Linked DNA regions of Homo sapiens: regions 1, 2, 3 and 4 are each linked to region 5. Evidence: promoter capture Hi-C in 16 types of primary human blood cells and fetal thymus (Javierre and others, 2016). All regions are on one chromosome and are shown on one strand. The core of a region is centred on a gene start or on the middle of the fragment in contact, and the rest is flanking DNA. Distances in the headings are between cores, read along the strand shown.

What was found. Contacts are between HindIII fragments. The CHiCAGO score rates a contact against its expected background, and 5 or more counts as called.
Region 1: a fragment that was not itself captured here is called in contact with the fragment with the promoter of KIF26B in region 5 in 1 of 17 cell types (megakaryocytes); the score reaches 5.6 in megakaryocytes.
Region 2: a fragment that was not itself captured here is called in contact with the fragment with the promoter of KIF26B in region 5 in 2 of 17 cell types (megakaryocytes and M2 macrophages); the score reaches 11.3 in megakaryocytes.
Region 3: a contact is called between a fragment that was not itself captured here and the fragment with the promoter of KIF26B in region 5, in 1 of 17 cell types (monocytes). The highest score is 6.3, in monocytes.
Region 4: a contact is called between a fragment that was not itself captured here and the fragment with the promoter of KIF26B in region 5, in 6 of 17 cell types (endothelial precursors, M0 macrophages, M2 macrophages and 3 more). The highest score is 10.4, in endothelial precursors.

What each region holds. Positions count from the first base shown.
Region 1 is chr1:246,307,892-246,312,824 of GRCh38, forward strand. The region is part of intron 5 of SMYD3 (SET and MYND domain containing 3); the gene reads right to left. Among named protein-coding and RNA genes, the nearest start is that of SMYD3-IT1, 12 kb to the right of the region's middle. RefSeq lists an enhancer at 1-157. The HindIII fragment of the contact is 1,434 bases long and covers 1,281-2,714 here.
Region 2 is chr1:246,282,018-246,286,990 of GRCh38, forward strand. All of the region lies in intron 5 of SMYD3 (SET and MYND domain containing 3), which reads right to left. Among named protein-coding and RNA genes, the nearest start is that of SMYD3-IT1, 38 kb to the right of the region's middle. The HindIII fragment of the contact is 2,026 bases long and covers 2,175-4,200 here.
Region 3 is chr1:246,205,406-246,210,994 of GRCh38, forward strand. The region is part of intron 5 of SMYD3 (SET and MYND domain containing 3); the gene reads right to left. Among named protein-coding and RNA genes, the nearest start is that of SMYD3-AS1, 100 kb to the left of the region's middle. The HindIII fragment of the contact is 2,520 bases long and covers 1,574-4,093 here.
Region 4 is chr1:246,260,483-246,266,190 of GRCh38, forward strand. The region is part of intron 5 of SMYD3 (SET and MYND domain containing 3); the gene reads right to left. Among named protein-coding and RNA genes, the nearest start is that of SMYD3-IT1, 59 kb to the right of the region's middle. The HindIII fragment of the contact is 851 bases long and covers 2,647-3,497 here.
Region 5 is chr1:245,151,824-245,157,293 of GRCh38, forward strand. KIF26B (kinesin family member 26B) reads left to right here and starts at 3,162. Exons shown (of 15, transcript NM_018012.4): 1 at 3,162-3,664; 2 at 4,459-4,860. The coding sequence starts at 3,602. RefSeq lists enhancers at 1,298-1,973, 1,974-2,649 and silencers at 2,504-2,703, 4,571-5,110. The HindIII fragment of the contact is 4,692 bases long and covers 1,293-5,470 here.

The sequences.
Region 1 (4,933 bases), core at 748-3,247, 1.2 Mb after region 5:
GGCATCCAGTCACAAGGATCTAATCTCAACTCCAGGTACCTCGGTAGCCTATTTGCAATGGTGACTGTTAAATTCTAGGAAGTCAGCACTGACTCTTCCACCTACAGTATCTTCCATTAAAGGCCAAATCAAATGATCTCCCCACTCCAAATCTCCATCTTAGGTCTCCGCATCACCATTATCGCAGTCTGCTGGAGAATACTGTGAGCACCTCCATGTACTGAACGTGGAAAGCAAGATTTACAAAAAGAAGGCAGCACAGTTTTGCTTTCAACGAATCTTCAATATAACTATATTTATTTATATATTTCTTTCATTTATCCTACCAGACAGGGCGGAAATGAAGTCTTAATTATCCTTATTTCTCCACATGGTGCTGTGAATAGAGTCAGTACAAATTTGTTGAACTGAAATTTATTAAACTGGTTCTTTCTGACCTAAAAGAGCCAAGTAAGAATCCCACTGCTTTGTTTTGGCCCTATTTGTCCACTTTTTCAATATGCCATAGAAATAAAAGGATGACAAGTCAAACCAATTTTCCCCCACTTCTTTACTGCAAACAAATAATACTAAATATTATAATAATATAATACTAAATATCACAGTGATATAGAGAATGAGGGAGAGAGTTTCGTCCCAGAAGAAGGCCCTCCTAGCCGACTACAACAGCAATCTCTAGAAAAACCCCCTACCAAACTGACAAATTCAAAACAGCAATACCATATGATACTTAAGAGGAAGAATGGTTCACATTTACAATTTATGATAGCACAAAGGCACTCCAGAATTTTATGTTCAGTGTACTGAATAGAAAGCAGCTGTTAGGCAAAGCATGATTAAATGACTTCAATATGGGAGAATTAATCACATTTTCTTATACTCGGGATTCTGCTGTCACTCAAAAATAAAGATGGAAAGGACTGTAAGGTCAGTATTTTTAAAAACAACATCAAAATGGGCACCTAAACTAGTATCCATCTAAAAAATGTAAAATGACTCACAGGCCTAAGATAGTAAGATTTTATTATCCATCTAAAAAATGTAAAATTACTTATGTGCCTAAGATAGTAAGATTTTATTATCCATCTAAAAAATGAAAATTACTTATGTGCCTAAGATACTAAGATTTTAAAAGCTTATTTGCACTAAAAGTTTTTAAGAAGCATCCGTTCTGTATTAATATAATTAGTAGAACATCAAAGGTGCCTCCAAAACCAATATGTATTTTTTAATTGTGAAAAAAAGTTTAATACTAGCAATACTAAAAAAAAGTTAAAAAAAGCTTAATTGTTAAAAAAAAGTTTAATTCTCATTTAATTTTCATTTCACAGACTAGGCTACAATTCTAGCAAAACAATGCATTTATCAAAATACATGATCACATTATGCCATGGATGGGAAAACAGAAATATAAAATACATGCAGACAAGAAAATAAAAGCAGGCACTTGGATTATCATACTCCTCCAGCCAGACGAAGGTATAGTGAACTAGAGAGTTCACCACAAACAGGAATAGAATAACCAAAAACTCCAATACATCAAACATGTCAGAACTGAATGGCTGCCTGAAAATGAATGCCCCTGAAAACACTATCCTTACTTCCTCTGTTTACCAGGTAGAAAGTTTGAGGATTCTATTTTGTTTCTCATACTCTGTGTCTACTGTGGTCAATCAAAAAAATCTACTGAAGTTACCGGGCTTTGAAATTACATTCAGAAAAAAGCAAGCTGGACTGTGGGATAGGTATTTATCAATGAAATGCTCCCAAGGACACTAATGAGGTTTTAGAAAAGAGGAAGCCACTTGCTGAGACATTGCCTTCACGGCCAAGAGTCTTTACTAGCCAATTCCATAGCACTCTTCCTATGAATTATAATTTAGAAAGGCAGATCCCACCCAATTCTAGAAATATAAGTTCAAATAGGCCCTAAGAATCTGGTGAACTCCATTTAAAAAATGATTTGTCTCTGCAAAAGAAAAAAGAAAAAGATTTAACTGACTGCAAATGAGCTTTACTTTATGGAATACCAGACACTACATGAGGAAATCTAGGTTTTTAAGACAGAGCAATGAGCTTGCCAAAATAAATCTTCTTCCACAAAAAGGTTCATAATAGAACCCTGTTAAACTCTAAATTTTCCTAGTTAATATAACCTGGTATATTATTTATAAACATTATAAGCAATGTTTTCAGGAAAAAAATTTGCTGTACAATACAGCACTGAATTCTATGTTTATCATTTTGCTATAAAGATAATTAGAAGTAATTAGTAACTTGGCAGCTCCAATGAACAAGACCTGCTTTTTTCAGAAACCATTAATCCTTTGATTCTTCATAGAGGACAAGAGAAATCGGAGGCAAGTCTACCTGAAAAGAGAGAATGACACGAATAGACTGGAAGAAAAGAGCTCCAAAATGTCTGGAGGTGAGACACTGACATTCATTTTCAGCAGCCATTCAATCCTGATGGACTGGAGCTTTTAGCTCTTCCCATTAGTGATGAAATGGCCAGCTTAAGATACTAGCACCTAACTGGAGGAGCAAAATAATGGAAGTTGCTGCCCTTTCTCTTACCCACTTATATTTTACACTTCTGCTTTCCCATTCCTGTCCTAATGGACATGTCTAAGAGAGTTGTGAAAGGTTTCCTAGAAAAGGCACCATGTTTAAACGAAATTTGCCAGGCAGAGCTGAAGAAACTGTACGAGCAAAGCTTGGAAGAAGAAAAGGAATCCTGAGTTTTAGGGGAAAGGACAAAGAGTAAGGCTTTTTTTTTTTTTTTTTTTTTTTTCTGAGAGGGAGTCTACCTCTGTCACCCAGGCTGGAGTGCAGTGGCGCGATCTTGGCTCACTGCAACCTCTGCCTCCCAAGTTCAAGCAATTCTCCTGTCTCAGTCTCCCGAGTAGCTGGGTCTACAGGCATGTGCCACCACGCCTGGCTGACTTTTGTATTTTTAGTAGAGACGGGGTTTCACCATGTTGGCCAGGCTGGTCTCGAACTCCTGACCTCGTGATCCACCCACCTCGGCCTCCCAAAGTGCTGGGATTACAGGCGTGACCCACCACACCTGGCCTAACAGTAAGGCTTTAAAGAGCCTACTCAACTAATACTGAAGACTGTTAGTAAATATGTGACCTATGGAATGATCACACTCTATAGAATGATCACACTGACTGAGAGCTCTATATTATTTTGTAATTGAAAACATGAGTTGTTTTCAAAAGAACTTTTAAATACCAAGATGATGCAAGTTTAAACCTTCCTTGTCATGGAGAAAATGCCCTTCCACTCCAATAAACTAAAAGATAATTTTTAACTATACAGAACATAATGTCTTGTTTCCACAAAATGCTAAATACTTTGCAAGATTCTCCTTGCTGACTCTGAGGTGGCAGAAAGTGACAAATATCATCCAAATCTTACTGATACAAGGAAAATATTTTCAGCACAAAAAAAATCTTTGTAGCATCATCATTGCTCTAAAGAAAAGCTAGAAGCCTGCCATAATGATTAGCAAACTCATATAGATATCTCCAGGAAAGGATTTACAAAATGTCATCACATCCTTGTAATCATCTAATTATCAAACTCAGCAGTGTTGACAAAGCACAAGCCCACTCAGCTACTGCTAATGATTATTATTCAAAGCTACATTTCTACCAAATCAGAATAACTTACAGGTAGAAGCTCATTAGCCTTAGGAACCACCCTCCTTGAACACTCACACGCACACGCACACGCGTGACACGCATACACACACGCGCACGCGCGCACACACACGCACACACACCCCAGCCATAACTAGGCCTTGCTGAATTGTCATTTGCTTTCATGACCCTCCTTCGTGTATATGAGCAGCTTTACGAATTGGTTCAAAAATACCCAGCCTTTCAAAAATAATTCCCTATCTAGAAAAATACCCTACAGACATCTATATCTAGAGAAATACCCTATGGACATTAGTTTGCTAATGTCATAGCAACAGTGCGGCAGGCATCGTCAAGCTTTGGTGGCTTGAAGAAACACACTGGCAATGCAACAATGGGAAGGAGCTAAAACGTAATGTAAGTGACAATGCAACGTGAAGGAATGGAGGCATAAAGGCAATGCAACAATGGGAAGGACTGAAAGCATAATGCAAGCCATGGAGGAAAAGCATACACTCACTGAATCTCCGCAATCTACTTGTCACTACACCAGGTGCTAGGAAAATGGTTACGACCCTCAAGCTGCTTGCAGTCTATGCAAGCAGTCAGCCAGCTCCAGGAACGTGGCATGAGATGAAGCTTGCAGGGTCCTCAAATGCCATACTTAAAAGCCTTGATTTCATACAAAGGCAGTAGGGAATCAACAGACATCTTTTTGCAAGAGATTAAATGATCAAATCTGGGTTTTTTTTCAATTATCTCTAATGGCAAAATATAAAAATGAATTGAGACTCAGGGAAACAGTGAGAGGCAAGGATATGAGTTAGAGGCCATTTAGGTGAGATCGGAAGGATTTTAATAATAACTGGGACAGTGACAAAACAATATAAAAATAAAACAATAGAGTCAAGAGATCTTTAAAAGCAGCATAAGCAGGGCATACAGAAGTTTGGGGGAAGAATCAGAGGTATTCCTGATATTCCTGGCACGGCTGGCTCAGGAGATTGCAACGTCAAGAGAGAAGACAGCAAAGGTGGAGAAGCAGTATGCTGTGCGGAAGAAAAGGCAGAGTTTAGGCACTGCACACGACGAATCTGAAGTAAAACCAGGTCACATAGATGAAGATTTTTGTTGGTATATAGAAAATATGGGATGAGCTCAGAAACACAGGCAGGCAAGTAAAGCCATGGCAGCACCATATTGTCATTCAACAGGTAACCAGAGACAAATCAGCAAATAACTTTTAAAACAAACTGGTGAGACAGGCAGAAGGACAATGATGA
Region 2 (4,973 bases), core at 1,938-4,437, 1.1 Mb after region 5:
ATCTACAAGACCAAATGATGTGAAAAATAGTTCTGCAAGACGGGGACTATGTGAATCCAGTTTTAAAGGTCCAAATATGTATACTTTACTTATATAGATCATGGCATAGTAGGAAAGACAGAAGATCATAAAAACAAATATAATGTAGAGGTCTAAAAATTGTTTCCTGGTCAGGTGCAGTGGTTCATGCCCGTAATCCTAGCACTTTGGGAGGCCAAGCCAGGAGGACTGCTTGAGCCCAGGAGTTTGAGACCAGCCTGGGCAACATGGCAAGACCCTCATCTCTACAAAAAAAAAAAAAAAAAAAAAAAAAAAAAAAAAAAGCAAAAAAATTAGCTGGGGGTGGTGTTGCCCACCTGTAGGCCCAGCTACTCAAAAGGCTGAGATGGAAGGATCGCTTGATCCCAGGAGGTCGGGGCTGCAGTGAGCTGTGGGCCAAGGTGGCGTCACTGTGCTGCAGCCTAGGCAACAGGGCAAGACCCTGTCTCAAAAAAATTAATAATAATTTTAAAAAATAAAATTATTTGTTCCAAAAAAAAAAAGCTGCATGTATTTTTCTTTTCTTTTGCTTACCTATCATTATTTTTCCACATCTCTTTTCTTGGTACTTCAGACAGATGAAGATAAATGAAGCACAGTAGTTAACTTCTTTGTTTGGATACAAAAAATCTTCTGTATCAACAATATTGTTATGCAAGCACTTTAAATGTTGCTTCTAGCAGATGAGACTTCTGCTTCAACATATGTTATGGGGAAAAATGATAAAAATTTATTCATGACTAGAATAACTGAACAGTCAACAAAATCTAACTAGAAAATGTAATAAATCAACCTGGTTTGTTGCAGTTGTTAATTATCTAAAGTAAACTGAAGATCCAGTCTCTCACTCCAAACAAGAATAAATAATCCCAGATTCTCAGCACTGTCAATACTTTCTATATCATCCTACCACTGCTGCAAACTTCTTCCTTCAGAGTGATCGGAATTTAACTTCCTCTGCCTGCACCTTCCCTGAGACAGGAAAAGCCACAAAAGAAATAAGGAGCTCTAAAGGTTCTTCTGCTCAACAATGGCACCTTAAAAATCTAAAACTTACTGAGGGAGCATGTAACCCCCCATAGAAAATAAAACAGTGGTCAAGCTTTTGGGATCTGGACTCAGGGTGGCTTGGGTTCACACCACAGTTCTACAAATGTAATCTTGGGCATGTCATCTACTTTCCTAAGCCAGAGATAATAACATTGCCAAGAGTGTAACAGTGAGTGATCATATGCACAGAGCTTAGCATTTTACCTGGAACCTATGTGTTTCATGAGCATGAGCTATTGCCATTATTACATCCCCTTTGCTACATCCCTCCCAAAGTCCTACCATCGACTCGCAATCTGAACAAAGAGAAAGGACCTCAAAATCCTTACTCTGGCTAAACTGGGCTTTAAATGTGTCAGATGTGTCCATCTTGCTTTCCTTCCTCACCACCCCTGCCTGCCAATAATCAGAGCCATGGAAAAGCTTCCCTTGCTCATGCATAAATAACGTCCTCATTCATATATACCTGTGTATGTTTAATTACAGTAACTAGAGGTCTCAAAATAACTCATATGGTTCTAATTTCAAATATTTAAAGCTCTTAATGACACTTGCTTCTGTGAGACCAGAAGAAATATAATTGCCACAGCGATAACATCTAAAGCCCAAGATCATTTCTCCCAGAACTTATAGCACTCACAGAAATCGACCAGGATCTGCTTGCAGTATCTTTTAGAATTTCTGTCTCCCACTGACACAACCGAGTCATAAACAAAAACTGCAGCACTTGCCAGCTTTCACAGCCCATGACAACTGTGAGTTACACACAACCTTCAGGTACACCATTCACCCTAATAACTGATTTCAAAATAACAAAAGGAAGTCAAGCATTTAAATGTAGCACATTAATATTTGACTAAAATAGCATATCAACCAGTAGAAAAATCAAACAAGGTAAATTACTCATGAAAGAAGAACTACATGAATTTCTCAGAAACGAAGTCTTGCTGGAGAGGTACATGCCATGTCACTTGCAACCAAAAGTACTTCCTCAGAGCCAATATCAAAAGCACCGGTGAGTATGCTGCAAAACGGCATAGCAGGCTGTCAGATGCTGCATATCAGCTACTTGAGCAGTTAGATTAAGCTTTCCCAACAGGCAAGTGCTGCAGTACTTCTGCATCTAGCATCTGGTAATGTGTTGCAAACGCAGAACAAAGAAAGCAGCAGGCTCCGAAATCTTTCAGCTTTCCTTTGACCATCTGCAGCACTTAAACACTTCAGGGTTACCAGGTCAGCAACGTGAATTCTCTCAATACCATGAAACATGAGCAAAATTTCCATTCTCTGAGGTTTCTAATTCTTTTCTTTTTCTTTTTTTTTTTTTTGAGACGGAGTCTCACTCTTTCGCCCAGACCAGACTGCAGTGGCTTGATCTCGGCTCACTGCAAGCTCCGCCTCCTGGGTTCACGCCATTCTCCTGCCTCAGCCTCCTGAGTAGCTGGGACTACAGGCACCCGCCACCACACCCGGCTAATTTTTTGTATTTTTAGTAGAGACGGGGTTTCACCATGTTAGCCAAGATGGTCTCGATCTCCTGACCTCGTGATCCGCCCACCTCAGCCTCCCAAAGTGCTGGGATTACAGGCATGAGCCACCGCGCCCAGCCTCTAATTCTTTTATTTTTCTTTACTTTTTCTGATTGTATTGAGATAATCAAATGATTTTTCTCCTTAAGGGAGTATGGTAAATTGTATTAATAGGTTTCTAATGTGAAACCAGCCTTACATTATTGGAAGAAAACACAATCTGGTCATGTTGCTTTTAAATTATTTGCTGGATTCAGGTTGCTAATATTTTATTTAGGATTTTAAAAACTCATGTTTACTAGTGATATTGACTAGTAACTGCCTTTCCTTTTTTTTTTTTATTTCCATAGGTTTTTGGGGAACAGGTGGTATTTGGTTACATGAGTAAGTTCTTTAGCGGTGATTTGCGAGATTTTGATGCACCCATCACCCGAGCAATATACACTGAACCGAATTTGTGGTCTTTTATCCCTCACCTCCCTCCACCCTGTCCCCCAGGTCCCCAAAGTCCATTGTATTATTCTTATGCCTTTGCACCCTCATAGCTTAGCTCTCACTTATGAGTGAGAACACACAATGTTTGGTTTTCCATTCCTCAGTTACTTCACTTAGAACAACAGTCTCCAGTTGCATCCAGGTTGCTGCAAATGCCATTAATTCATTCCTTTCTATGGCTGAGTAATATTCCATCATGTATATATACCACAATTTCTTTATCCACTCATTGACTGATGGGCATTTGGGCTGGTTCCATATTTTTGCAATTGTGAACTCTGCTGGTACAAACATGCGAGTGCAAGCCACATGCAGGAGAATAACTGGATCCTCACCTCTCACCTTATACAAAAATCAACTCAAGATGGATTAAGGACTTAAATCTAAGACCTGAAACTATAAAAATGCTACAAAAAAAAAAATTGGAAAAACCCTTCTAGACACTGGCTTAGGCAAAGACTTCATGACCAAGAACCCAAAAGCAAATGCAACAAAAACAAAGATAAATAGATGGGACTTAATTAAATTAAAGAGTTTTGGCATGGCAAAAGGAACAGTCAGCAGAGTAAACAGACAACCCACAGAATGGGAGAAAATCTTCACAATCTATACATCCAACAAAGGACTAATATCCAGAATCTACAAGAAACTCAAACAAATTAGCAAGAAAAAAACAATCTCACCAAAAAGTGGGCTAAGGATACGAATAGACAATTCTCAAAAGAAGATATAAATGGCCAGCAAACATATGAAAAAATGCACAACCTCACTAATGATCAGGGAAACAAAAATCAAAATCACAATGCAATACCACCTTTCTCCCGCAAGAATGGCCATAACCAAAAAAATTTAAAAAAAATAGAAGTTGGCATGGATGCTGTGAAAAGGGAACACTTCTACACTGCTGGTGGGAATGTAAACCAGTACAACCACTATGGAAAACAGTGTGGAGATTCCTTAAAGAACTAAAGTAGAACTACCATCCAGCAATCCCACTACTCGGTATCTACCCAGAGGAAAAGAAGTCATTATATGAGAAAGACACTTGAGGTTTCTGATTCTAAAGTAAAACCTCCATCCCACAAAAAGCTTAATAAAGGATAATAACAAAACCTTGCTTTGCCAGCACTTTTGTTTAAATTTTTGTTTTTAAGTTCCAGGATACATGCGCAGGATGTGCAGATTTGTTACATAGGTAAACACAGCACTTTTTTTTTAATCTGACAAATCACAAATCACCACACAGCTCCCATCAATGCCTCTTAAAAACAAATATTTTCCACTGTCTTAGGGAAGTCCCAATTTCTTTAAAATTCATCATACAAATTATTTCCTCAAGTTTTCACTCAATGAAAATTCCTGAGTATAACACAAGACTGACATTAGTTCTGTACTCAAACTCTCAGAAAATTAGTGCTAGTTTTCTACAGACTCCCTGAAGGTCTTTTTAAAAATTTTTAGAAATTTGTATGTAGTAATGACTTGCCAATATAAATGTAATACAGAGACACTGTTTTTGTTCATCTTTGTATATCCACCTAGTATAGGGCATGGCACATACCAGACACTCAATATTTATTAACTAAAGAGTACGTAGGTCTGCTGCCTCTCAAATATTTGATAATCAGACTTTTGAATTCTAAATTTCAAGTGGAGAAATTTTCTCCATTGACCATCATTATAAAACTGTAGTGGTATATCTTTGGAAAATATATGACCTCAAGATATAATAAAAAAATCTTTTTTTTTGTTTTTTTTTTTGAGACAGTCTTGCTCTATCATCCATGTTGGAGTGCAGTGACGGAATCTCGGCTATTGCAACCTCCGCCCCCTAGGTTCAAGCAGTTCTCATGTCTCAGC
Region 3 (5,589 bases), core at 1,584-4,083, 1.1 Mb after region 5:
TGCGCAGTCTAGCCACAACTCGCCACAGGAAAAGCACAATATGAGGGACAGTGTTCACTCTCATACATCTCTGCTTTTGTTCAATCCAGGCATAACAGGAATTAGACAGGACTAGATTAAAAGTTCCCAGTTCCGGCCCAGCGTGGTGGCTCACGCCTGGAATCCCAGCACTTTGGGAGGCCAAGGCAGACAGATCGTGAGGTCAGGAGTTTGAGACCAGTCTGGCCAATATGGTGAAACCCCGTCTCTACTAAAAATACAAAAATTAGCTGGGCATGGTGGCGAGCGCCTGTAGTCCCAGCTACTCGGGAAGCTGAGGCAGGAGAATCGCTTGAACCCAGGAGGCGAGGTTGCATTGAGCTGAGATCGTGCCACTGCACTCCAGCCTGGGTGACAGAGAGAGATGCCACCTCAAAAAACAACAAAGACAACAACAACAAGAGCAAACTTCCCAGTTCTGCTACACTCTTAAGGCAAGTTACTAAACTTTTCTAAATCTTCACTTCCTCATATGTAAAGTGGGGATCACAATATTAAAGCCTATAAAAGGGTGAACAAATACTAAATTCACTGGTGTGATGAATTACCCATCATGCTGTCTTCAATTTCCACGTCTCAGCTGAGGCTTTCCCTGATGCTGCATGTGTGGCAAGGATCGGGCTTTCTATAGAAAATATTGAATAAAATAATATTCCTCCACTGTTTTTAGGACAACTTCAATTAGATGTGGAAATACTAGGGAAAAAAGAGTAGTCTTAAAATGTATTTTATAAAAATCTAGATACAACTTAAGCCTAAAATAAATTTAAAAAAAGAAAAACAAATTAATCCAGATGACATATAACTAAACATCAAAATGGGGAAGGAAGGAAGGAAGGGAAACCTACATTGAAATCTATTCTACCATAAACCAACATGAACACTTCTGAAAAGAATGTAAGAGGAGTTCTGGGCTATCTCTTAAGTAAAAGCAACAGGAATCCCATGGGTAAAGAAACTTGTAATAAAGAGGTATTTAGACTCAAAGAATCTCACAGAAATATAAGAAATAGAGTTAGGGTCATATGGAATGTTCTAGTGGTACCAAAAGCCACACAAAAATGACAGAGAAAAATTATGTACAGAACTTGTATGCTTGAAAAAAAAGTTACAGTATTATTCTTCTCTTGCTACCAATGCAAAACAAAAATCAATAACCAATTCTGTTTTCAGATTTTTATCCACTGTGCTGCATAAAGGCAATTTGGGGACTGTCTGAACAGAACTTCTAACTCAGCATCTTCTCAGACAAGTAGATTTGTCATTCTAACCAATAAATAACTAGTCATACTGTGGCTAAGAGAGCACTTTATATTTAATGCTTTAATAAAGCTCTGAAAAAGTTGGGAAAACTTTAAAACCTTAGCCACTTTAGAGTAATCATATTAAATTTTAATATAGTTTTATAAACTGTATAACAGCTCAGCTGATTTAACAACTGTAAAAAGCTAAATTCACAGAAAAATAACTCGTATTAATTATTGAATTCACTTTTCAGAAGCACTGATTCACCGAAAGTGATGGCAGACTCAGAAGCTTCTGAAGGAACACAGTTGAGTTCCCTAAACATTTCATTAGTGGGCATTACCAGGGAACACAATTCTATGCCAAACGTATAAGGCAGGTTTTAGGACTTCAGATTACCTAAAATGAACATAATAATGAGTAGTCACTTCTATAAAGATACTGGATATTGGATATAAAAATTAAATATGTGTTATTTGACACACCTATTCTCTATGAATAGGCTGTACCACACATAAAACATCAGAAAATCTGAATTCTTGTGTGTAGGTCATTCATATGTTTACTCCTGTCTTTTAAATTCATCTTTATCACCATCAGATCCTCATTACTTATTGTCTGGATGCAGGTTTCTCTTTTACTTACACTGCCTCTCCTTCCACGTTTTCATCGTTATCAGTGGCCCATGTTAGTAGGTTAATCTTAGTTTGTGAGCCTGAAGATCTCTTAGCGCTCCAAGATGGAACTGGTACGTGTCATCTTATTTCCATCTAAATACAGCATAAGGAGTGAAAAAGGTCAATGGACTGGGAGTTACTAAATAAAGGTGATGTGGAAAACAAATCATAACATAGGAGTATAAGCTAAAGGAAAGGGCCATTATGGTAATATCTATCAAGGACACTTACAAACAGTAAAAGACAAAAGGACATACAAAGAAACGTACAACTTAACTAAAACAGAAAAGAAAAAAGAAAAGCTCTGAAGTCTACAAAATTATAACAACGATGGGATATGAATCATGTTTTTTCAATTCTAAGTGGAAGGAAGAAAAATAAATCACATGTGCCTGGTAGGGGAGAATTTGCTTAAGAAAGTTTTCTCATTTTAGATTTGCTTTTGGGGTAGATGGTACTTTTTCACTATATTCTTCAATCTCAAGTTTTCACAGGAATCACATTAATAAGAGACAGGGACTGGACAATAACCTGGGGAGCAGTAAATTTGGGGGTTATTCTTTTGCATTAATTGGTCTAGTTAACCAAGATGTGCAAACTGCCAGAGTAGAAGTAAATCTACATTCTCAAAATTTTTTTAAAAATGAAGAGTGACAAGGAAGAATATGCCTCATTCTAGCAAAGTCATATCTGAAGAGAGAGCTGGGAAAATAGGTGAGATTTGAAATTTGTGTCTATATGATGTAAGACAATTTTAGAATGATAGTTATTATCTCATAGGCTAAATCAAAGCACAGCTGTCTCTCTGCATGCACATTTTGATTCTGCAACAGAGGTCCTGCAAGAGCCATCATAATGCCAGCAAATTAAATAAGGAGAGTTTGAAAGGCCCAGTCATTGTGAACAAGACTGAGGCTATTTCATTCACTTCACGTGGTGAAGTGCATTACGAGGAGCTGATATGACTGTAAAATGTATGGAGACACTATTAAGCTGAAAGGAATCTAGACATGTGGATAGTTCCCTACTCACTAACACTTCATGATAATAGAGTTAAATATTCTGAATAGTTCACTTCTAAGGGATTAATACACTTCCCCAGTACTCAAAATCATGTCTGCCTTTCAACTTATTTGAAAGGTTCAGTAATAACTCCTCAAATACTCACTGCTTGTCATATTCTAAATACTGAATTCTTAGATGCAAACACGCAGCTCCTATTAGGGCTAACGGAAGCTACATGTTTGTACCAAGGGAAAAACATACGTCTAGAAAACTGTTCTCTGCTGCTCATAGGCAATCACGTTGCATGTCCTCTCGTGGACGGTATAAAAATGCGTGACTATTTACGCAGAACCATTCAGGTGTTACAGGCACTTCCATAGCATCCAAGAATGCATTAGCCAAAACCAACTAAAGTAGTTTTTGGGCTCATGATCATTCAAGCTGAATCAATAATATTAAACAGCATGTGGAATGGGGGAAAACCAAGTGTAAAGCAACATTAAAACCTCTTTCCACTCAAGCATAATTCATTTTGATCTTTACTACTGGATTCAGCTAAAGGTCAAATAATATATGATGATTTAGATTCAGAAAATATATTATTTCGCTGTTGAGTATAGTCTGAAATGAGGGCAACTAATTTAAAAATGGAATCAATTTTAAAAATATAAATGTAATAAAAATGTCTCCATCACAGAATATACAAATTAAGTCCCACTATTGATTACTGCCAACATTTTAAGCCTCCCTACTCATATTGGTAATGTCTTTAGTGCAACTTAATTTTCTTCATATTGTGTCATACACATTCAATGAACATCATTCCAGTGAGGGACCAAGAACGAGGTCAGAAATGGCTGTGATGATAAATTACAGACCTTAATAACTTCTGAACAATTTGAAATGTAAAAGCCATCTATAAGTCATTCAGCTTGATAGATGAATGGTTAATGAATTATACAAACTAATAAAAACCATTAATTATTTATCTGTACTACAAAATGGCATAAGGCCAAGATCTTAAACATGGTCTGCATTAAGACCAAAACTGGGATTCAGGGTATATATAACAAGAGGGGGAAAAAAAGAGTTATCTATTAGAAGACTGTATAAGCAAAAATCACTTAAGCTTTATAAGCATAGAAGATTTTATTAAAGGACTGGTCAGATTCATAACTGACAGACCACTGAAATATTATCAGCATTGGGGTAAAAAAAAAAAAAGGTAACTGGTTGATTTAGATGTTTCCTTGTTCTTTTGCTTTTTGTTTTCAGTGAAAGGCAGTTTGAAATTTCCGTCTTAGTGGTTTGTACTGCAGAACACTGAGATCAAGACTTGGGTACTTTTGTATACTTGCATTTCTTGCTCTTGCATGAGTCCCAAGCAGTGATGGGGGGCTACCCCTCCCCACTAAGGAATAATCACATTCCAGTTTCTGGAAAGAACTCAAATTAGTCTGACTCTAGTGAATCAAGAGCAAGTCCAAGATGGAAACACAGGAGAGGCAACCTGGGAGGGAACAGACTGAACAGGTAAAACTACAGTTAGTAGCCTCCCCGTTCATGAATTACAACTGACAAATGACATCTTATCTGGTAACTCTGTCAAATCTTCACTAATTCTTCGACTTCAGTATTTCTCAAGAATGGCTCTTCTACTACCAATATCAGAATCACCTAGAGAGCCTGTTTAAAATGCATATTCCTAAGTTACTTTCCAGACCTCAGGTAACAGGACATATTCCAGAGGTCTGGAAATAGGTAACAGACCTCACCAAGTGTGGGGCTGAGAAAGCTTTTAATGATCTGCCCAGGATATTCCAATGTGCCCTAAAGTTTGAGAGTCACAGTCCTAAGAGGATGCTCTCCATTACACCACCCTGCAGCAATGGTGCCTACCATCACACGCATAGTGCACATGTCAGCAACGTAAGAGATGCCAAGCTCTTAAGTGTAACAGGGTGCCTTGAATATTCCCTAAATATGTGAGAACATAGGCATGACTGGATGGATAAATGCATGAAGGAGAAAACTAACAGTACTTCTGATATAAAATAGGAATTCTGATTCCTTTAGAATTGGCTCTACAGCACTTTGGGAGGCCGAGGTGGGTGGTTCACCTGAGGTCAGGAGTTCAAGACCAGCCTCACCAACATGGCGAAACCCCGTCTCTACTAAAAATGCAAAAATTAGCTGGGCGTGGTTGCGGGCACCTGTAATCTCAGCTACTCAGGAGGCTGAGGCAGGAGAATCACTTGAACCCGGGAAGCGGAGGTTGCAGTGAGCCGACATTGTGCCACTGCACTCCAGCCTGGGCAACAAGGGCGAAACTAAAAAAAAAAAAACAAAAACAAAAAAAACAGAATTGGCTCTACAAATCCATTCGCAGCTCTCCAAAAATCCCCAAGGTGCTCCAAATTTCTCACAGTCTATATATTTGACCGTACGATCTTAACTTCTCAGGTATTGATCAGAGAAAGTCGAGAGGAAGGAGGAAATGCAGGGCTTCAATTCTGATTTCGCAGAAACATGAGTGCTGCACTGCTTTCGGCCCCGCATGGTGTGCTGGCAGACACCACCACTGTCCCAGGCGCGTCTGCTGTGAAAGCCGTTGCTTAGCAAC
Region 4 (5,708 bases), core at 1,822-4,321, 1.1 Mb after region 5:
GTTCTATCACCAGGCTGGAGTGCAATGGCCCGACCTTGGCTCACTGCAACCTCTGCCTCCCAAGTTCAAGCGATTCTCCTGCCTCAGCCTCCTGAGTAGCTGGGCCTACAGAGCTAATTTTTCTATTTTTAGTAGAGATGGGGTTTCACCATGTTGGCCAGGATGGTCTCGATCTCTTGACCTCGTGATCCACCCGCCTCAGCCTCCCAAAGTGCTAGATTACCAGGCGTGAGCCACTGCGCCCAGCCCCATTTTCCTTCTTGAAAAAAAGCTCATACAGTTTATCTTCATGCACTATCTAGCCATTTCCAAGTGGCTGAGGCATGCTACAAGCCTCTTATCTGCCATCTTAGAGAAACAATCTGCACTTTATAAATGGACAGGTAAATCTTTGTTGAGAGAGAAAAAATAAAGGAAACAGCTTGTAGAGTGACCCAAGTACAGTCCTGAAGCTGCTCTCAAGGAAAGTAAGAAAAATAGCAGCCCAAACCCTCCCCTTAGAAGGAAGGCTTTTCCCACAGAGTCTCGCCTTCTGGCTGGAAGTCATCTCTTTCTGGGTTTTGTTGTTGTTGTTGTTGTTGTTGTTGTTTATTTGAGACGGCGTCTCACTCTGTCACCCAGGCTGGAGTGCAGTGGCACCATCTCAGCTCACTGCAAGCTCCGCCTCCTGGGTTCACACCATTCTCCGGCCTCAGCCTCCCAAGTAGCTGGGACTACAGGCGCCCGCCACCACGCCTGGCTAATTTTTTGTATTTTTAGTAGAGCTGGGTTTCACCGTGTTAGCCAGGATGGTCTCGATCTCCTGACCTCAGGATCCACCCTCCTCAGCCTCCCAAAGTGCTGGGATTACAAGCATGAGCCACCGCACCCAGCTCTCTTTGTTTTTTTTTTTTAATGTTACCTTATAGTCACAGCATTTTATGCTTTAATGATAATTCACATTTAATTTTAGAAAACTTTTATTTTCTTAAAGATATAATCGTTTATTATATTTACATATTGAATGTTTTCAATGACAATAAATATAGGAAGGTCATCAACAAGACCCATAGAATTTAAACAATCACACATAAAATAATTGGTGTAGAAGTCAAAATTTTTTAAATGGTTAGCTCAGAAAATACAGAAAGCTCAAGACACATTACTAAAACATGAACTGACCTTAACAAAGAAAAACACTGCTTTGTTTCTATTATACTTCAAAAAAAAACAGTAATAAGAATTTAAAAAAAAAATCAGTTCTCTGTTGCATAGAAGGAGAAATATACCATTTTCTCTTTCTGTGAGGAAAAAGAGGAAAATCATATTTAAAACGAATGACATTCTGTACAGATGGGCATAAACAGCGCCCTCTGTCTCATGTACACACATCCTTTTCTTGTCACTCAGCTTTATTTCTGGCAATTCTTAAATCGGAGAAAAAAGTTACAATAAATCTGTAAGATCCATATTGTGTATAGAAGTAAGTGAAAAATAAGCTGTTCAAATTCCAATACCTACTGATCTCCTTCTGTGGCCAAAGTTTCTCTGACATCATTCTGCTGCTTGTTTATTCTTCCATGCTCTCCTATTGTTACAGAGGGCAACTAATTTTAAAAAGTATTTGACAGTATTAAGCAATAACTTTGTGCCGATTTTCTTTTTCACAGAACAGAATTAAATTTGAGTGCAGATGTGAGTAGATATAGAAGAGTGTATGATATTTTTGTGTGTGTGTTTTCTTTGTAGAGTCCAAAAGCCCTGTGGATTGTTAGTGAAGCTCAGGCAGAATAAAGCAAATAGAAGAACAAGGCAACTGAAGTCTAACGATATGGTGGATAAGAATCCGATTTTAAATCTTGACATTGCTTGAGAATGGGAATAATGTGTTACTTATTTTTCGCACTATGACTAACAATTATTAAACATCTAATATGTACCAAACACAGTTCTGGACATATTCCCATATCTTAACTCGTTTAATCTTGACAACAATCCTTCTGAGGTAGGTTTTATTACCCTTCATTTCAGATGAGGAAATAAACTCACAGACATTACTAATTTGGGTGACTCAGACAGACACAGTTTCCATTTTGTTCTTCCTTTCAGTTAACATATATTTCTTATGGACTTTCTGCTTGTTCCAGGCACTATGCTTGGCACAGCGTCTACCATTTCTCTTTCTACTAAACCATATAGCCGGTCTCTGACACCTAGCACAGTACCTAGGTCATATTAGGTTCTCAATGAAGATTCACTGAATTATTTGGTTAATTTACTTGTCTCTATAAAATAAACATTTACATAGAAATTTGGGTCCAGGTTTATATTATCTTAAAACATCTTGTAATTCAACACTGTTAAAACATGTATTTTAAAAATAGTTTTTCAAAAGAGAAAATATTTCATTGATTATAGACATCTAGGAAACCCAAGTCAGGTGGCAAATACCTGCACTGAAAACTAACAGAATCATGGAAAGGAAGCCTGACACAGCATGATGCACATTCTCTCAACTTTGTATGTAAATAAATCCTACATTCTTTAATTGTCTCAAGAATGCGTGATTTGAATACCTAATTCTATTACAAATATCACATGGGAATGGTCTTCCAATGTTGGTACATGTACTCAAGGCACAATGCATAGTGTTGACCAAAAAGCAAAAGCTTACCATGAAAAAAGGTAAGTAATGGATGGATTACTTTGTAGTCAGACATGGATAAGGTTGAATGTTAGCTCTGCCATTTACTAGCTACCTTATTTTGAGGGAAGTTATTTCACTTTTCTGAGGCTGTTTCTGTACTATAAAATACAGATAATTCTAACAGCATCTACTGTGCACTCAGAGATTATGGTGAGGACTAAATGACAGGATGTATGTGACCTGGGCACATACCCAGGTCAGAGTTAGGGCTCATTAACAGTTAGCTGTATATTGAAGTAGAAAAGTTAGGGAGGCTGGGAAATAAATTTTCTGGTAGGCATGAGGTGGAGCAGACTACATAATGATCACCTTCTTTTTACTGTCTAACCTTTAAAGCTCCTTAGTATGCAGGAAAATGCCTGCTCCTGAATGAGCTGATCTTCATACCAGCGTATTTATCTTTCCTAATTCAAAAACAGCCTCCTTAAAACACAAACATACTTTTTCATACTGTCATTCAAAATAGCTGCTTATGATATAACTTAATAGTAAAAATGGGAAAATTACTGATTTCTTTTTGTACAATTCTATGTACCTTCAACAAATTATGCCTTTTCATTTTCAAAGGATAATACCAATTCCTTCCAAAGGCATGATCAAACCTAAATAGTGGTTAATTTGAACATTTCTTTTAAGTCCCAGAAGAAGAAATTACGTTAACCACTTCTTCATATCTTAAGTGAAAAATGTGTAAGACAGTAACTGTCTTAAATAATTACATTTCTGCTTATTAGGTGTAATTAATATTTTATCCCCAAATTAAGCCAAAATAATTCCTTAGATATAAGATGCCTACACAACCAACAAATCAAGCTTTTAATTTCTGAGTTCTAGCCAAAAGGCCATATTGCCTAAGAAGAGCAGAAATAAATGTTTTTTTTTTTGTTGCCTTTTTAAAAACTTTGTAACCTACATATAAATAGAAGGAAACTCAGATTTCGAATACAGACTTCTGAGGGAAATCAAATGAATACAAAATTTATTGTATACTAAGCAGTAACTCTTGTTTATTCTATCACTTGGGACTGTATATTCTTTTTAAATTAGTATATCAATTGTTCTGAATATAATAATTCAATACAGTCATCTTCCTAAGGGTCCATTTTAAGCATCATTCAAAGCAAGTAGTAGTAAAAAGGAACAAAGCATAAGCCACAGCAGTGCTAAAAATATGGTAATTGATTAAAACAAAAACAATTAGCTGGGTGCAATGGCTCATACCTATAATCCCAGCATTTTGGGAAGCCAAGGTAGGAGGATGGCTTCAGCCCAGAAGTTCACGACCAGCCTGGGCAAGATGGTGAGACCCTGCATCTTAGAACTGATGAAAGACGGTAACTTTTCTATATTTTTTCAATATGATTTTATTCTCACACATCAACAACATTCTAAGATGTCTTACAAAGAATAGCTTTTGTAATCCCATGGCCTCTAATGCAATACAGTGCTTTATACACATTCTATGGGAATTGCAGGTACCATCTCCATAGCCTAAGAGTATGCAATCTGAACCAAATCCTTTTCTGTCCACATCTTGAAGTGCTTCTTAAATTCCTAAGATCTAACTAGTTACTTCTCTATTACCTGTTAGTGGCTCTGCTATAGAAGAAAAGGTGAAAGTAAATATCTACAAAGAAAGACAGTGGGGATAGTGACAACAATAATAACCACTATTTACTAAGTGCTATGTTCTAAACACTTTACATGGACTTTGTTACTTAATGTTTGCAATTCTATGATGCATACAGAATCAGTCTTATTACGAGATGAACAAATTTAGTTTCCAACTGATAATTGTGAAGAAATAAAAAACTACAGGAGAGTGATTTTTAAATCAAAGGTGCATATGAAGAGAAGCATGCTAATGAAATAATCCTGCTAGCTTTTCTTTTTTGATTTTGTAAAATATTAATTGCTCTTGCACTGTTCTTTATTGACAATGGATCAGACTGAAGCTTCTGGTCAGTGTATCTTTATTATTTTTCGAGACAGGGTCTTTCTCTGTTGACCAGGCTGGAGTACCAGGGTGTGAGCATAGCTCACTGTAACCTCAAACACCTGGGCTCAAGTGATCCCACCTCAGCCTCCCAAGTAGCTAGGATGTGGGAGTATGCCAACATACCCAGCTAATTTTTGTATTTTTTTTTTTTGTAATAGACAGGGTCTCACTTTCTTGTCCATGCTTGTCTTGAACTCCTGACCTCAAGCAAACCTCCCTCCTTGGCCTCTCAAAGTGCTAGGATTATAGGCATGAGCCACTATATCCAGTTCTGCTTCGTTTTTTTTGTTGTTGTTGTTTGTTTGTCTTAAGAAAAAATTCTCATTTTGTGAAGTGTGAGCCAGGAGAAAGAGACAAGAGGCTGACTCCAGAAAAACTGCAGTCTTCATTCTTAAAAAGCACATCTTTCAGGGATGATAGCTATTGGGATATTCACATGTCAGCAGCTCTCAGTATAAACAAAACAACAATAAAAAGTCAGAAAATCAGCAAGAGGAATAAACATGTCAGAAATATTGTGGGATCCAGTGACCATCACATGTCTTAATAATGAGCTCATCATCCAGCCTGTATGAGCCTTCTCCTGTGAGAGCATCTTTTTGAACCAACGGATCAACAGAAAATACTCCCGCAGTGCTTGCTTTTTAAAGTAGGATTATATGAAAGTAACTGAGAATTACTCCCATCTCCTTATATTGACAATCTTCCAGTTAATGAGAAGATGGATTTTCTCCTCAAGCTATTGGGTTTGAGAATCTTCTGTTCTGTGTTAGCTAATCTCTCATGAATGTTTTTAACACTGAAGGTCCTTGTATTTGCTATTACAAAAAAGCAGGTGCAACTGAGTTCCTTCCTTAGAATTTTGAGCTCGCAATCATTTGTTCAAGATCCCACTAATCTTTTTAGTTCTTGTTTGCTGAACACCTGATTTTAAAAGGGAACCCCACAAATCCCCTTTAACCACTCTTCCATTTGAGTCCATCCTTCATAGTCATCTACTAAACATTTTGTTTACAATGTATC
Region 5 (5,470 bases), core at 1,912-4,411:
ACATTACATACAGGAGACTGTCCATATGAATTACTGCTGACCTCTCATCAGAAACAAGGAAGGCCAAAAAGCAATGAATGACATCCTCAAAGGGCTGAAAGAAAAATAACTGTCAATCAGGAATTCTACGTCTAGCTAAACGATTCTTCAAACACAAAAGTGAAACAAAGACATTTTCAGATAAGCAGAATCTGAGAATTTGTTGCCAGGAGACCCTCACTATAAGAAACACTAAAAGAAATGACCCAGTTAGAAACTTGCCTCTAAAGGAAAAAAAATAAAGAGCCCCAGACATGACAAAACTGGGTAAATATAAAAAACTTGACATTTTCACTGAAAGACAACAGATTGTTTCAAGTAAAATTGATGAAATTGTTTTGTGGATTTTATAATGCATGTAGATGTAAAATATATCAAATTAGTAGCACAAAGGAGGAAGGTAAGATGGAGAGGTTGCAAGTCTACATTTTAGGTGAAGCGGCACAATGTTAATTCTAAGTAGCCTATGAAATGTTAAAGATTCATATTATAGGCCAGGTATGGTGGTTTCATGCCATAATCCCAGCACTTTGGAAGGCGGAGGCGGGAAGACAGCTTGAGCTCAGGAGTTTGAGACCAGCCTGGGCAACACAGGGAAACCTTGTCTCTACTTAAAAAAAAAAAAAATTAGCCAGGTGTGGTGGTGTGCACCTGTAGTCCCAGCTACTAGGGAGGCTGAGGAGAGAGGATCATTTGAGCCTGGGAGATGGAGGCTGCCGTGTGCCATAATAGCGCCACTGCACTCTAGCCCAGGCAACAGAGTGAGCCCCTGCCTCAAAAAAAAAATCCATATTATAATCATCAGAGCTAAAAAGTCAACAGAGAGATGAAACTGGAATACTGAAAAGTTATTCAATTAACAAAAAAAGGCATGAGAGACAGAAGAATGAAAGAGAGTAGAGATAGAAAACAGACCCATACTAGCAACAACATGAAACTCAAAAACCTGTGTTAAGTGAAAAAAGCCAAACCCAAAAGAGTACATGCTGTACGGATTCTATGAATTAAAAACCCTTCCAGATCAGTCCACACTAACCCATGCTGATAGAAATCAGAACAGTAGTTTCTTATGAGAGGTGGGGATTGCCTGGGAAAAGGTAGATAACCTTCAAGAGGGACAGGAATTTATAGATGTTGATCGAGGTGGTGGCCTACGCAGAGTACACGTTTGTCAAAATTCATAGAACTTAACAATTAAAATGTGTGCGTTTCATCTTATGTATATACATTTTACATAAACATCAATTTTTGAAAGCTTCTTAAAAACTCTTGCAGAGCCTCCGGTTATAAACTTTAATCAACAGAGGGCGCTCGGAGCCCACCAAACACGCTTTGGGCCCCCAGCTACTTAGAAATGCAAATCAGAGCAGCTCTGGGCTCCCCCGTCTCCGAGGTGGATCGCGCAGCTCCCCAACACTCCCCCTCGACACCCCACCTTCCCCACCCGCGGCCTCGCCGGCTCGTTTCACCACACGCTGCTTTTTGGCTGATAAGCGGCTCGTGGCCAATGGCGATGATGTGTTTCGCGGCACCTACGCGAAATACAGATGCGGGTGGGAGCTGGCGCGTGCTGCCTGGAGGTGTACCTGCCCCCTAAGGTCCCCTATTGATAGGATCGCTTTTAAATTGGAAGTGGGAACGTAACGGAAACGTCCACTCTGTTCTTGCCATCTTCCTTTTGACCTTTTTACCTCGCTTTGGTGGCTGTGAAATATTCCCGCGCAGGAGCTGGAGCGGGGAGGAGTGGGGCAGAGCACGGGAGGCACAGAAGAAATTGTCCCCGAGGAAGGCAGAGTGGGGGCGTGGCCCCAGGCTTCCAGAACCCCGAACCTTTGTCTTCTTGCCCCCTCCTGCGTCGTCCACAGCTCAGAAGGAAGTCAGCGACCAGAAAGCCCTGAACGTCCTTCGCGCCCTCGCCCACCCCCGGGCTGGGTCTCCCCGCGGGCGCGGAGATGCCGTTACACCCCACGTGATCCCTGCGCCCGGCCAGTCCTTCCAGAGGCGTCTCGCGGGGTGTTAATTAAAGGTCACAACAAAACAGACCTGCTGGCTCACCAGAAGAAATGTCCTCCCGTGAAATGAAAAATGACACCCCAGAGCAGCCACGTGTGGAGCCTGGCATACGCCGGCTTCCTGCGCTCCTGGGCGCTGCGCCGGGGGACTGGGGCGGGGGGCGATCGGAGAGGGAGCGATGACGGGGTGCTCCGGAGACCCCGCGGGGCCCAGGCGCAGGAAGAAACGGGCGGCGGGGGGCGAGGGGCCCGATCCCACGCAAGGAGAGGCCAAGGCCAGCTCGCGCCACACCCCCTCTCCAGGCCAGAGTCGTCCGCGTGCAGCGCGGCGAAGCCCTCAGTTTCCCCTGCCCGGCAGCGGCCCGCTGGGTCACCAGGCTCACCTGTCCCAGCCCCGGGCGGCTTAGTCCATCACAGACCGGGGCTCGGGCGGGCGGGGGACCAAGGGCCCTAGTCCTGCGGCTGCGGTCGGGGAGGGTGGCCCCCCGGCCGGCCCGGGGTCGGTAGGGCAATTCCAGAAAAGGTTTGCCCGGCAGCTCTCCGAGAACAAAGGGCGGGGGGAGGACCCGGCATGTTTGTGGACTTGTTTGTGACTCAATCCCTTTTGCACGGCGTTTCACAGACAGACCTGCAAGCCTTGTCAGGAAGAGAAAGAACTTGGGGGCGGGGGAGGCTGGGGCACCGCATTTCCGTCCAGCCACGCTCGCTCGCGCGGCCCCCGGGCTCCAGGCTCGCGCAGCGGCGTTTCATTAGAGCCCCGGGCCCGGGCCGCGCGCCAGGAACTTCCCCGCACGCGGCGAGATCGACGATCCCCCGCCCCCAGCCCCAGCCCGGCTCCAGGCCTCGCAATGTCAGGCACGAGCGCCGCCACATAAAATGGATCCCGGCCGGCGCGGCGAGGGCGGCAGGTTCCCGAGGCTCCTCCGCGCTGCGCCCGGGCGCACACGCGCGCTGTGACCGCCGACCGCTCCCGGGCCACGCGGAGCCGCCCCTCTCCCGGCCCTCGCGCAACTGTCAGGCGAAACGGGCCGGCGGATATTGGCTCGGCGACACGCCGAGGCTCCTCCCCGAGTCTGGATCTTTATATTTTGGGAGAATTTCTTTGAACTCAGTTACCAAGCTCGGTGAAGGAGACAAGTTCCCACAGCTGACTCGGCTCGGCTCTCCCACCTTCCCGGCAGCGGCCGCGAGCCCTGATTGTATCCCTCGCTTTCCTCGTGGGGGAGCACGGACTGACTTGGCTGAAGAAAATGCCAGTTCTGTGGATGTGGCCGTGACAAGAGGACGTGCGGCTGGAAGAGGCAGAAGGGGACGAGGAAAAGCATGCTTTGAAGAGAAGAATAAACCAGCGACCCCAACCCTTTCTGCAAATTGGTGCTATTACTTGTGGGATCCATTTGCTTTCATTCCCTCCCACCCCACCGCTGAAGAAACCTTGCCCTGAGGGCTGAGAGCCAGCCCCCTGCAGCCGGGGGACGCTTCTGGGTTGGAGGACCTTCTGGATGTAGCGTCGGTGGAACCTTTAGATACTCTCCTCTGGAAAAGCCACCATGAATTCGGTAGCTGGGAATAAAGAGAGGCTTGCGGTCTCCACCAGGGGCAAGAAATACGGGGTAAGTTGTGACGGTACGACGCGGAGACGCGTTACCAGACCCATCTCGGCGGAGGTCCCCCTTTCCCCGGGATCGTGCGGCCCCGGCCCCGAGCTCTCCCCCGCTGCAGAGGCGCCCCCGGGGCTGGCGGGGTTGTGAGTGCGCGGAGGCGGGTCGGCCGCGGGGACGCCCGCACGCTCGCCTCGCTCTCGGAATTTTTTCAGCCCTCTCGTTCCTTCCTTTCCACGCACCCGTAACTTTTGCCGCATTCCTGCACTTCTAGGCAGAGTGAAGCCGAAGGGGAGGGTTTCCCATGAATGCTGGGCAGTACCTCGGATCGTTTAGCTGGAGCCGTGAGAGCCTCTCGTTTACCTGCAGGATCCGGAGAGTTGGACCCCGTATGAATAAAAATCCTGAAATCACAGCCCTCCCCCTACCCCCCCCATAGGGTCTTCCAGGATTTTGTTCCCGGGATCTTGCTGGGATAGGTGCCGGCTTCAAAAGCGTGGGGCGCTGAACCTATGGATCCCCCCCGCCTTGCAGAAGCCGTGGAAACGGCCCCGAGCGAGTCCCCTTCCTGACCCCAGGAGGAGGCCACCGGGGACCAGCGCAGGGGTCACCTGGGCGGTGGGGACTCACTTAAGGACAATTAACGAGACAGACGGAGGGCAATTTGGCCGCAGGGCTTGGAGAGGTCCCCAACCGACTCCCGTGGGCGGTTCGAGCGGGTACTTGGTGGCGCACGTATGACCCAGCTCCTGGGCGCTGCAGCCCGCCGCCTTGCAGCCCCTGACACCGGCGTGTCTTCCCCGCAGGTGAATGAAGTCTGCTCGCCCACCAAGCCCGCAGCGCCCTTCTCCCCGGAAAGCTGGTACCGGAAAGCATACGAGGAGTCGCGCGCCGGCAGCCGGCCCACTCCTGAGGGCGCGGGCTCAGCGCTCGGCTCCTCGGGGACCCCGTCTCCCGGCTCGGGCACCTCGTCCCCGAGCTCGTTCACCGGCTCCCCGGGACCCGCCTCCCCCGGCATCGGCACTAGTTCGCCGGGCTCCTTGGGCGGCTCTCCGGGCTTCGGCACAGGCTCCCCGGGCTCCGGCAGCGGCGGCGGCTCCTCCCCCGGCTCGGACCGCGGCGTCTGGTGCGAGAACTGCAACGCCCGCCTGGTGGAGCTCAAGAGGCAGGCCCTGAGGTTGCTCCTCCCGGGGCCCTTCCCGGGCAAGGTGAGCGCCGCGCGGGGCTGGCTGGGGAGGCGCCGGGAGGGCGGGGCCGGGCCGCCACCCACAGCAGCTGCTCAGCCCGCCGCGACCTTGCGCGCCGGCTCCACGCGAGAGCCCCCGGCGGCGCTGGGGATGCTCCACACCTCACGGGGCTCTAGCACGCGGGGCGACCCATGCCCCTTCCTCAGCCAGGCCGCCCGGGGGGCAGGAGGACCGAGTCCCGAGCGCGAAGGGGCGCCCGTGGCCACAGGCCTCACGGCCCACGGGGGAGGCCCCCAGGTGGTCTCTCCTGCCGCCCCCTCCCAGCTCTCCCTGGCGGCTGCAGGCTGCGCTTTCGATGTTTCTCCCCACCCCCACCTGTGATCCTTTACAAAAATGTCAGCGGGAGCTGTAAAAGCAAGCTGATGCTCGGAGCTGGCATTTCCCACTGCCTGTTTGTGGTCCATCCTTTCCGCGGTTGCAGAAACAGAAACATACTCGAAAGCCAGCATTTTCCCCTTCTCAGTCTGTGTGTGTGTCTGAGGAAGATCCGGAGGCGGGTGGCTCTTCGGAGCAGTGCTCCCTCCTGGCCTGCTCCTGCGCCAAGCACACTGGTTCCTCCATAGCAACCCTG